Linked DNA regions of Homo sapiens: regions 2 and 3 are each linked to region 1. The links are contacts of gene promoters, found by promoter capture Hi-C in human tissues and cell types (Jung and others, 2019). All regions are on one chromosome and are shown on one strand. Each heading gives the region's core, a stretch centred on a gene start or on the middle of the fragment in contact. The rest is flanking DNA. Distances are from core to core; before and after follow the strand shown. Region 1 holds the start of LMAN1L (lectin, mannose binding 1 like). Region 2 has its middle 12 kb from the start of RPP25. Region 3 overlaps CLK3 (CDC like kinase 3).

The links. The method cuts DNA at HindIII sites, captures the fragments that hold promoters and counts their contacts. A contact is called where the count stands out against the background at its distance.
Region 2: a fragment that was not itself captured here is called in contact with the fragment with the promoter of LMAN1L in region 1 in 1 of the 25 tissues and cell types used here (lymphoblastoid cells).
Region 3: a contact is called between a fragment that was not itself captured here and the fragment with the promoter of LMAN1L in region 1, in 6 of the 25 tissues and cell types used here (aorta, dorsolateral prefrontal cortex, heart right ventricle and 3 more).

Annotation. Positions count from the first base shown.
Region 1 is chr15:74,811,184-74,814,133 of GRCh38, reverse strand. LMAN1L (lectin, mannose binding 1 like) reads right to left here and starts at 1,299. Exons shown (of 14, transcript NM_021819.3): 1 at 1,105-1,299. The coding sequence starts at 1,279. The HindIII fragment of the contact is 6,905 bases long and covers 1-2,950 here.
Region 2 is chr15:74,967,841-74,970,659 of GRCh38, reverse strand. No RefSeq gene overlaps it. Among named protein-coding and RNA genes, the nearest start is that of RPP25, 12 kb to the right of the region's middle. The HindIII fragment of the contact is 5,742 bases long and covers 1-2,819 here.
Region 3 is chr15:74,616,021-74,618,868 of GRCh38, reverse strand. The region is part of intron 1 of CLK3 (CDC like kinase 3); the gene reads right to left. Among named protein-coding and RNA genes, the nearest start is that of CLK3, 1.6 kb to the right of the region's middle. RefSeq lists enhancers at 1,668-2,278, 2,279-2,848. The HindIII fragment of the contact is 8,305 bases long and covers 1-2,848 here.

The DNA of each region.
Region 1 (2,950 bases), core at 50-2,549:
TTTTTTTTTGAGCCAGAGTCTGGCTCTGTGCCCAGGCTGAAGTGCAATGGCAGGATCTCAGCTCACTGCAACCTTGGCCTCCCAGGTTCAAGCAATTCTCCTGCCTCAGCCTCCTGAGGAGCTGGGACTACAGGCGCACGCCACCACACCCAGCTAATTTTTGTATTTTTAGTAGAGTCAGGGTTTCACCATTTTGGCCAGGATGGTTTTCAACCTCTTGACCTCGTGATTCATCCGCCTTGGCCTCCCAAAGTGCTGGGATTACAGGCGTGAGCCACTGCACCTGGCCAAGAACTCACATTTTATAGACAGAAATCCACAGCCGATCTGCTTTCTGTCTTTGCTTTGCCTGCTAAGAGGCTCAGAATTAAATCCATGGCCCAACTCTCAGGTGGACAGACCTCACAGCATATGTTTTGGAAGCCATGCTCCTAGACTATTTCACGCTCCACTCTAATCCTCATTGTTCTTGCTCACTCCCTCTATCGTGTAGTTCCATCATCACAAACCCTTTTTTGAACAAGATCTGGTAGAAGACACACTCTTTGTAGGTCTGGGTTTGGAAGTCCCTGAATACAAACCTATGGGCTAAGATGCTCTCATGCCTGCTTCCACCCACAACACACATACAGGGAAGGGCTGGTGCCCACTCACCTGGGATGAGGATGCTTCCCTCCAGGTAGCCCCCAGTTCTCATGGCCAGCCACAGGCCCGCTGGGATGGAGCCGGGAGAGTGGAGGTTTGTGCTGGTCCACATTGCCTTCTGTGTGCCTGGGACTTAGTGTGTGAGCATGTGTCTGTGTGTTCACAGGTCAGAGGTAGAGGAAGGGCAGGGGTCCAAGGAGAGGCAGAGGAGAAGAGAGAAGTCCTGGGGCAGGGAAGCAGAGAGGCAGAGGAGAAACAGCTTGGGCAGGGGTGGGGGGTGTTGAGGCGGTGGAGCAGGAGACAAGCCTGGAAGGGGTCCTGGGGTGCCTGGCACTGTCCCAGGCCTTGCCCCACCCTGGACAGAGGATGGCTGTGACAGACCCACTCCCCACCAAGTCACAGCCCCTCCAGCACTTTGAGGGACCCTGGGCATAGCTGGTCCCCACCCCTGCCCCTCACCTCCATGATGGCTCCAGAAGGGTATTCCAGCCCCAGGCAATGCCAGCCTTGGGCCTTTGAAGCTGAGCTTGTACTCAAACCTGCGTAGAGGAGGACACCCCGTCTCAGGGCTGTGGGGGTCCAGGAGCAGGAGGAGAAGGCAGAATAAGGGACCTGGACCACTGACCGCCGGCATCGTGAAGGCGCCTGAAGTCTGGGCCCCGGGGTAGATCATAGCTGGGAGGCCGGGGAGGGGATCCTGGGATAGGGCCAGGCAGGGAGGAGCTGGGGACTGGCCAGGAGCTGGGTTTTGGCACTGTCCTCTCCCTCTATCTCCAGCATAGACATCCTGTTCCTTCCAGGCCTGCTGTCAGGCCCCGCCCATCCCTCACCTCCAGTCTGACGTGGGCAGCGGGACCCCACGACAACCTGAGCTCTGCCCCTGCTCCTGACTCAGGCCATCTTTCTGTCTCCCATCACTTCCAGCAGTTGGATGCGGCAGAGGGGAAGGGGGGGTGCCCAGGGTTGGCCCCCACCCTTCAGCAGCCCTGGCCTCCCCTCCCAGTTAGGGAGACAGGCCTCCACATTCTGCCTGTGTCCCCCAGCATGGATGGCACATCTATCTGGACACCCATCCTTCTCTCCTCCCTGCCCCCTCTCTCCCTCTCCCGAATTCCCCCAGGCTCATCCTTCCAAGCAGCCTGGTTTCCTCAACAAAAGCATTACATGGAAAAAAGAAGGGAGTCTTTAGAGACAGCACAAAAACGCAACGTGCAGACCTTGTTTGGAGCCAAATTTTAACCCAACTGCAAAAAAAAAAAAAGATATTGGGGAAATTTGAACAATGGATATTTTTGAACAATGGATATTTGACTATATTGAGGAATTGTTAAAAATTTTAGGGCACTGTGGCTCATGTCTGTAATCTTAGCACTTTGGGAGCCCAAGGCAGGTGGATCACCTGAGGTCAGGAGTTCGAGACCAGCCTGGCCAACATTGTGAAACTCTGTCTCTACTAAAAAAAAATACAAAAAATTAGCCAGGCCTGGTGGTGCATGCCTGTAATCCCAGCTACTTGGGAGGCTGAGGCAGGAGAATCACTTGAACCTGGGAGGCAGAGATTGTAGTGAGCGGAGATTGCACCATTGCACTCCAGCCTGGGTGATAAGAGCAAAAATCCATTTCGAAAAAAAAAATTGAGAACTAATATGGTATTGTGGTTATGTTTTTTATTTTTTATTTTATTTTATTTATTTATTTTTTGAGACGGAGTCTCGCTCTATCGCCCGGGCTGGAGTGCAGTGGCGCGATCTTGGCTCACTGCAAGCTCTGCCTCCCGGGTTCACACCATTCTTCTGCCTCAGCCTCCCAAGTAGCTGGGACTACAGGTGCCCGCCACCATGCCTGGCTAATTTTTTGTATTTTTTAGTAGAGATGGGATTTCACCGTGTTAACCAGGGTGGTCTCGATCTTCTGACCTCGTGATCCGCCTGACTTGGCCTCCCAAAGTGTTGGGATTACAGGCGTGAGCCACTGCGCCTGGCCTTTTTTTTTTTTTTTGAGAGGTGGTGTCTTCCTATGTTACCAAGGATGGACTCAAACTTCTGGGCTCAAAGGATCCTCCTGCCTCCTGAATAGCTGGAAATAAAGGCATGAGCCACCACGCCTGGCTTGTGGTTATGTTTTTAAAGTGTCTTTTGGAGAAACATACAAAAGCTTTACAGATGAATTGCTGTAACATCGGGGATTTGCTTCAAAATATTCCAGGGCTTGTTGGTGAGCAGGTGGGGTAGAGATGAGACAGAATTGACCTTGAGTTGGTAAGTGCTGAAGCTGGATGGCGGGATGCAGGGGTTCCTTATATCTT
Region 2 (2,819 bases), core at 285-2,784, 160 kb before region 1:
ACTTGAGGTCAGGAGTTCAAGACCAGTCTGGCCAACATGGTGAAACCCTGTCTCTACTAAAAATACAAAAAAGGTAGCCACGCGTGGCGGCATGTGCCCGTAATCCCAGCTACTTGGGAAGCTGAGGCAGGGGAATTGCTTGAACCAGGGAGGTTGCAGTGAGCTGAGATCATGCCACTGTACTCCAGCCTGGGCAACTGAGCAAGACTCTGTCTCAAAAAAATAAAATAAAATAAAATAGGCCAGGCGCGGTGCTCACGCCTGTATTCCCAGCACTTTGGGAGGCCGAGGAGGGCAGATCACTTGAGGTCAGAAGTTTGAGACCAGCCTGGCCAACATGGGGAAACCCTGTCTCTACTAAAAGGCTGTGGTGGCATGTGCCTGTAATCCCAGCTACTAGGGAGGCTGTGGCAGAAGAATCAGTTGAACCCAGGAGGCAGAGGTTGCAGTGAGCCGAGATTGCACCACTGCACTCCAGCCTGGGTGACAAAGTGAGACTCCCTCTAAAAATAAAATAAAGAGATCTCATTAATCACCTGGTCTTCTTTTCTGGCTAATTTTTTTTATTATTATTAGTAGAGATGGGGGGTTTCGCCATGTTGGCCAGGCTGGTCTCGAACTCCTGACCTCAGGTGATCCGCCTGCCTTGGCCTCCCAAAGTGCTGGGATTACAAGTGTGAGTCACTGCACCCAGCCAATCACCTGGCCTTCTTCCCTTCAGGTTAGGAACTAGGCAGCTTTGGGATTCAGGCTGATGGGTGGAAACAATCCCAAAGTAGGATCACCTGAGGTCAAGAGGTCGAGACCAGCCTGGCCAACATGGTGAAACCTCGTCTCTACTAAAAATACAAAATTAGCCAGGCATGGTGGTGCACACCTATAGTCCCAGCTACTTGGGAGGCTGAGGCAGGAGAATCGCTTGAACCTGGGAGGCAGAGGTTTCAGTGAGCCAAGATCGCACCACCGCACTCCAGCCTGGGCAGCAAAGTGAGACTCTGTCTCAAAAAAAAAAAAAAAAAAAAAAAAAAAAAAAAAGCCCCTGCATTTCCAGGTGAATTCCCTGAAAGTTTCAAGTAGAAGTTGCAACCTTGGCCCAGAGCAGTGGCTCACGCCTGTAATCCCAACACTTTAAGAGACCGAGGCAGGAGTATTGCTTGAGCCCAGGAGTTCCAGACCAGCCTGGGCAACATAGTAAGACCCCATCCCTACAAAAAAAAAAAAAAAAAATCTAAAAATGAGGTGGGAGGATCACCTGAGCCTGAGAGGTTGAGTCTGCAATGAGCTGTGATAGTGCCACTGCACACCTGCCTGGGTGACAGCAGTGAGACCTTGTCTTAAAAAAAAAAAAAAAAAGTTGTGCTGGGCATGGTTACTCATGCCTGTAATCCCAACACTTTGGGAGGCTGAGGCGGGTGGATCACTTGAGGCCAGGAGTTTGTGACCAGACTGGTCAACATGGCAAAACCCCGTCTCTACAAACAAAACACAAAAATTAGTTGGGCATGGCCGGGCACGGTGGCTCACACCTGTAATCCCAGCACTTTGGGAGGCCGAGGCGGGCAAATCTCCTGAGGTCAGGAGTTCGAGACCAGCCTGGCCAACATGGTAAAACCCCTACTCTACTAAAAAAAAAAAAAATACAAAAAATACAAAAAATTAGCTGGTGTGGTGGTGGGCACTTGCAATCCCAGTTACTCGGGAGGCTGAGACAGGAGAATTGCTTGAACTCAGGAGGCAGAGTTTGCAGTGAGCCCTGATTGCTCCACTACACTCCAGCCTGGGCGTCACAGCAAGATTCTGTCTCAAAAAAATAAAATTTAAATTAAAAAAATAAAAGGAGGCTGGGTGTGGTGGCTCACGCCTGTAATCCCAGCACTTTGGGAGGCTGAGGCAGGTGGATCACAAGGTCAGGAGTTCAAGACTAGCCTGGCCAAGATGGTGAAACCCCGTCTCTACTAAAAAATATATATATACAAAAATTAGCCAGGCATGGTGGTGGGCGCCTGTAATCCTAGCTACTTGGGAGGCTGAGGCAGGGAATTGCTTGAACCCAGGAGATGGAAGTTGCAGTGAGCTGAGATCAGGTCACTGCACTCCAGGCTGGCGACAGAGAGATACTCTGTCTCAAAAAAAAAAAAAAAGGAAGTTGCAACCTTGGGCTAAACTGAGCTACAGATACGTTATTTAAAAGCATGAGCTAGGCCAGGCGCAGTGTCTCACGCCTGTAATCCCAGCACTTTGGGAGGCTGAGGCCAGCAGATCACAAGGTCAGGCGTTTGAGACCAGCCTGGCCAACATGATGAAACCCCATCTCTACTAAAAATACAAAAAAAAATTAGCCAGGCGTGGTGGCAGGCACCTGTAGTTCCAGCTACTCTGGAGGCTGAGGCAGGAGAATGGCGTGAACCCAGGAGGCGGAGCTTGCAGTGAGCCAAGACTCCACCACTGCACTCCAGCCTGGGCGACAGAGCGAGACTCCGTCTCAAAAAAAAAAAAAAAAAAAAAAAAAAAAAAAATTAGCCAGGCGTGGTGGCGGGCACCTGCAATCTCAGCTCCTTGGGAGGCTGAGGAAGAAGAATCGCTTGAACCTGGGAGGCGGAGGTTGCAGTGAGCCGAGATCGTGCCATTGCACTCCAACCTAGGCGACAGGGCGAGACTCCATCTCAAAAACAAAAAACAAAAACACATGAGTTAGTTCATGTGGTAGATTGTCTGCAGAGATGGCTGTCAACAGTTCCTCCCATTCCTGTATATACATGTCAGGCCTTTCACCAAGAGGTACAGTTTATTTCCTTATCCCTTGAATCTGGTCTAGACAT
Region 3 (2,848 bases), core at 31-2,530, 200 kb after region 1:
GGGAGATCAAAGGCAGGAGAAAGGGGAGCCTCCTGCACTCTATTCCCTCCCGCCCGGGGGGGCGGTCCCGTGAAGTGAATGCTCTGTAAAGCCAAAGGCCAGGCAAAGGGCTGTACACAGGAGGCGAGGGCTCAAAGCCCTCAAGTTTGAGAAGCTGAACGCTGTCTGGCTAGGGCCCTGAACTGGACCCCACTCAAGGGAGTAAGGACCACAAGTGAGCATGAGGAGCCACAAGAGACTAGAAGAGCAGCCCTTGGAGAAAGAGGCACACAGGCCTCACAAACATTCCATAGCCCTCCTGAGGGTCAACCCAAGGGGACGTGGACCCAGCGCATCTAACTTTCTTTCCAGAGGCCCATTTAGCACCCTTTTAGACCCCCACAGTGCCCTGCCAGGTGCCTTGCCTTTATCCAACAGTACCGTTACTGTCCCTTCTTCTAGCTCTCTGGCTCTAGTATCCTACCCTCCGCCTATCCCAGGATAGCCAGAGGGTTAGCCATCTGGCAGGTAAAAGAGCCCCACCTCACTATCCCTGTTCAGTGAGGACTTATATCCACCAAATGAAATTGCCAGGCTGGATCTGCCACCAGCGGAGAAAGCTGGCCATGTGAGGCCAGCAACCTGCTCCACCCATACGTCAATCCCTGACTGCCTCCATGGAGCCAGCCTTCTTCCCAACACTCACACTTGGCCACAGCCAACCTCCAGTCATGGTCAGTCCTGAGCTTGCCTGGCCAAGCACATTTTGTACAAACCCACTGAGGCTGCCCCATCTCACCAGCAGGGTCTGTCAGGAGAAAAGCAGCATAGAACAGCTCCCCATGCTTGAGCAGGACAGTGAGGCCTATGTGACCAAACCCCTGGGAGCCTCTCCGTGTCCCTAAGAAAGCCCTCCATCTCCCCACTAACTTGTCTTCCCCCGTGTACCTGGGAAGTCTTTGGAGATAAATATTTTGTGAAATCACCTCCCCAAAAGCTTAGATTTGTTGTTTTGGTAATCAGCTGACTAATATTTCACTGTTTTCCTGCAATTACTCTGGGTCAGGTGCCCAAGCTATGGAATGAAAGCAGGAACTCACACCCCACTAATTGACCCAGAAGATGCTCTATTGGCCAGGGCACATGTCGTGCCACAAGGCAAGTATGGTCCTGCCCATCCTCACTGGGCAGACAAACACCAGAGCTGGAGGACACAGTCACAGTCACACCACGCCAAAGACTACCTCCTGGGACCTAGAAGATTCTTATGTCCATACATATTCACATCAATGGAAAACAAAATTTCAGAGTCATATAGATGTCAATCTGAATCATGGCTTGCCACTTCTAGCTGTGTGCCTTTGAACAAATTATTACACTACTCTGACCGTCAGCTTCATCTTGCAACAAGGGAATAGTAATCTCTTACAAGGTTCTGTGAGGATTAAATATCTCTCTCCTATAAGTGAAATGCCTAGCACAGCTTTGTGCCCACAGAGGTACTAGTGGCAGCTTTTCATGAACATCTGAAAGTTCCAGGTAACACTTCAGGGCTGTGTTAAATGCCTTACAGACATTTTATAAGTCCCTTCCAAGGAAACTGGGAGGCAAGAGCTCTGGCAGAAAACTAAACTAAATCCTAGTGCTGTCACATACCAGCCTCATGACCTTAGACAAGTCACTCTAGGCCTTGGTTAGCATGCCTGGAAAATGGAGATAACATCTCTCAGCCTGGCAAAAGAGATGACAAGCATGAGAGTTATAAGGTACCACACACAAAGCAATAACAGAGAAGAGTATCCTTCCTTTAACACATTCTAGGCAAGTAAAATATTGGAAATAGCAGATATCATCCTCCCAGCCAGGGCTCTAGGGCCCATTTCTCAATTATCTCTGATTCTCGAAAACCTCAGCAAACAGCTTGTTTAAAAAGCAGCTAAAGGCCACAATTATGCTTTGGGAAGCTCTGCTCTGCACAATGAGGAAAAAGGTGATATGAAGAAAACCAAGCCAAGGATGTCAACTTTGAGCACAGGCCTTGTCGGCTTCTCATTTGCTGTTCCTGGCCAGAGAACTGGGCTGACTAGAAGTGCAGCCAGCCAGGTCAGCGGCTGCCCTCCCGGATTCCAGCCACCCCAGCACCCATGGTTATTTTTGGCTGGACTGCCCTACCACTGCAACCTCAAACCTGCCACCTCGCAAGCCTCCACCACCAACGGTGAAACGCTCCTCCTTTTCAAGGGCATCAAGAAGGGAAGCTGGAAGGCCGCCAACTCCGCCTCTGATGGGGGCCTGGTTCAGGCAATTTCCACCCCAGCTCCACATCAGGGCACCCACACCCGGAACTAAAGCTAGAGACTCCCGGGCGGGACGGAGGAGCAGCCAGGGGATTTGAACTGTCAGCTTGGCCTAGCCCATCCTCCGGGCTGGAGTGGCTCTACCACCACAACAAAACACACAGGGGAGCCTGCGCCCTCGTTCGCGTCCCTTCCTGCCGCCCCAGGTCCCAGGGGGTCTCAGAGTCCCATCCCCTGTAACCGCCACCAGTGGCGCCGAGGGGAGACCCGGGGACAGAGGGAAAGCCGGACTGGGCCAGAATCAAACTCCAGGCCGCCAAGGGAGGAGTCATCTGCGGACTAAGCCTGAAGCCAGGGGTAGGGGAGGGGTCTGAAGGGCTTCTCTGGCTCTTCTACGTCGGACCCCGACCCCATTCCGCGGGCAGGCACAGAGCCCAAACTGGACCCTTGAGCGGCCCCAGAGGCCGTTCAGGCTCCGCCTTCAACACCGTGGGGTCGAGGTCAGGGTCTGCAGTGACCGCCCTCCGGGGCAGAAGCAGCGGGTCAGGGGTGAGAGGTCGCGGCCCGATATG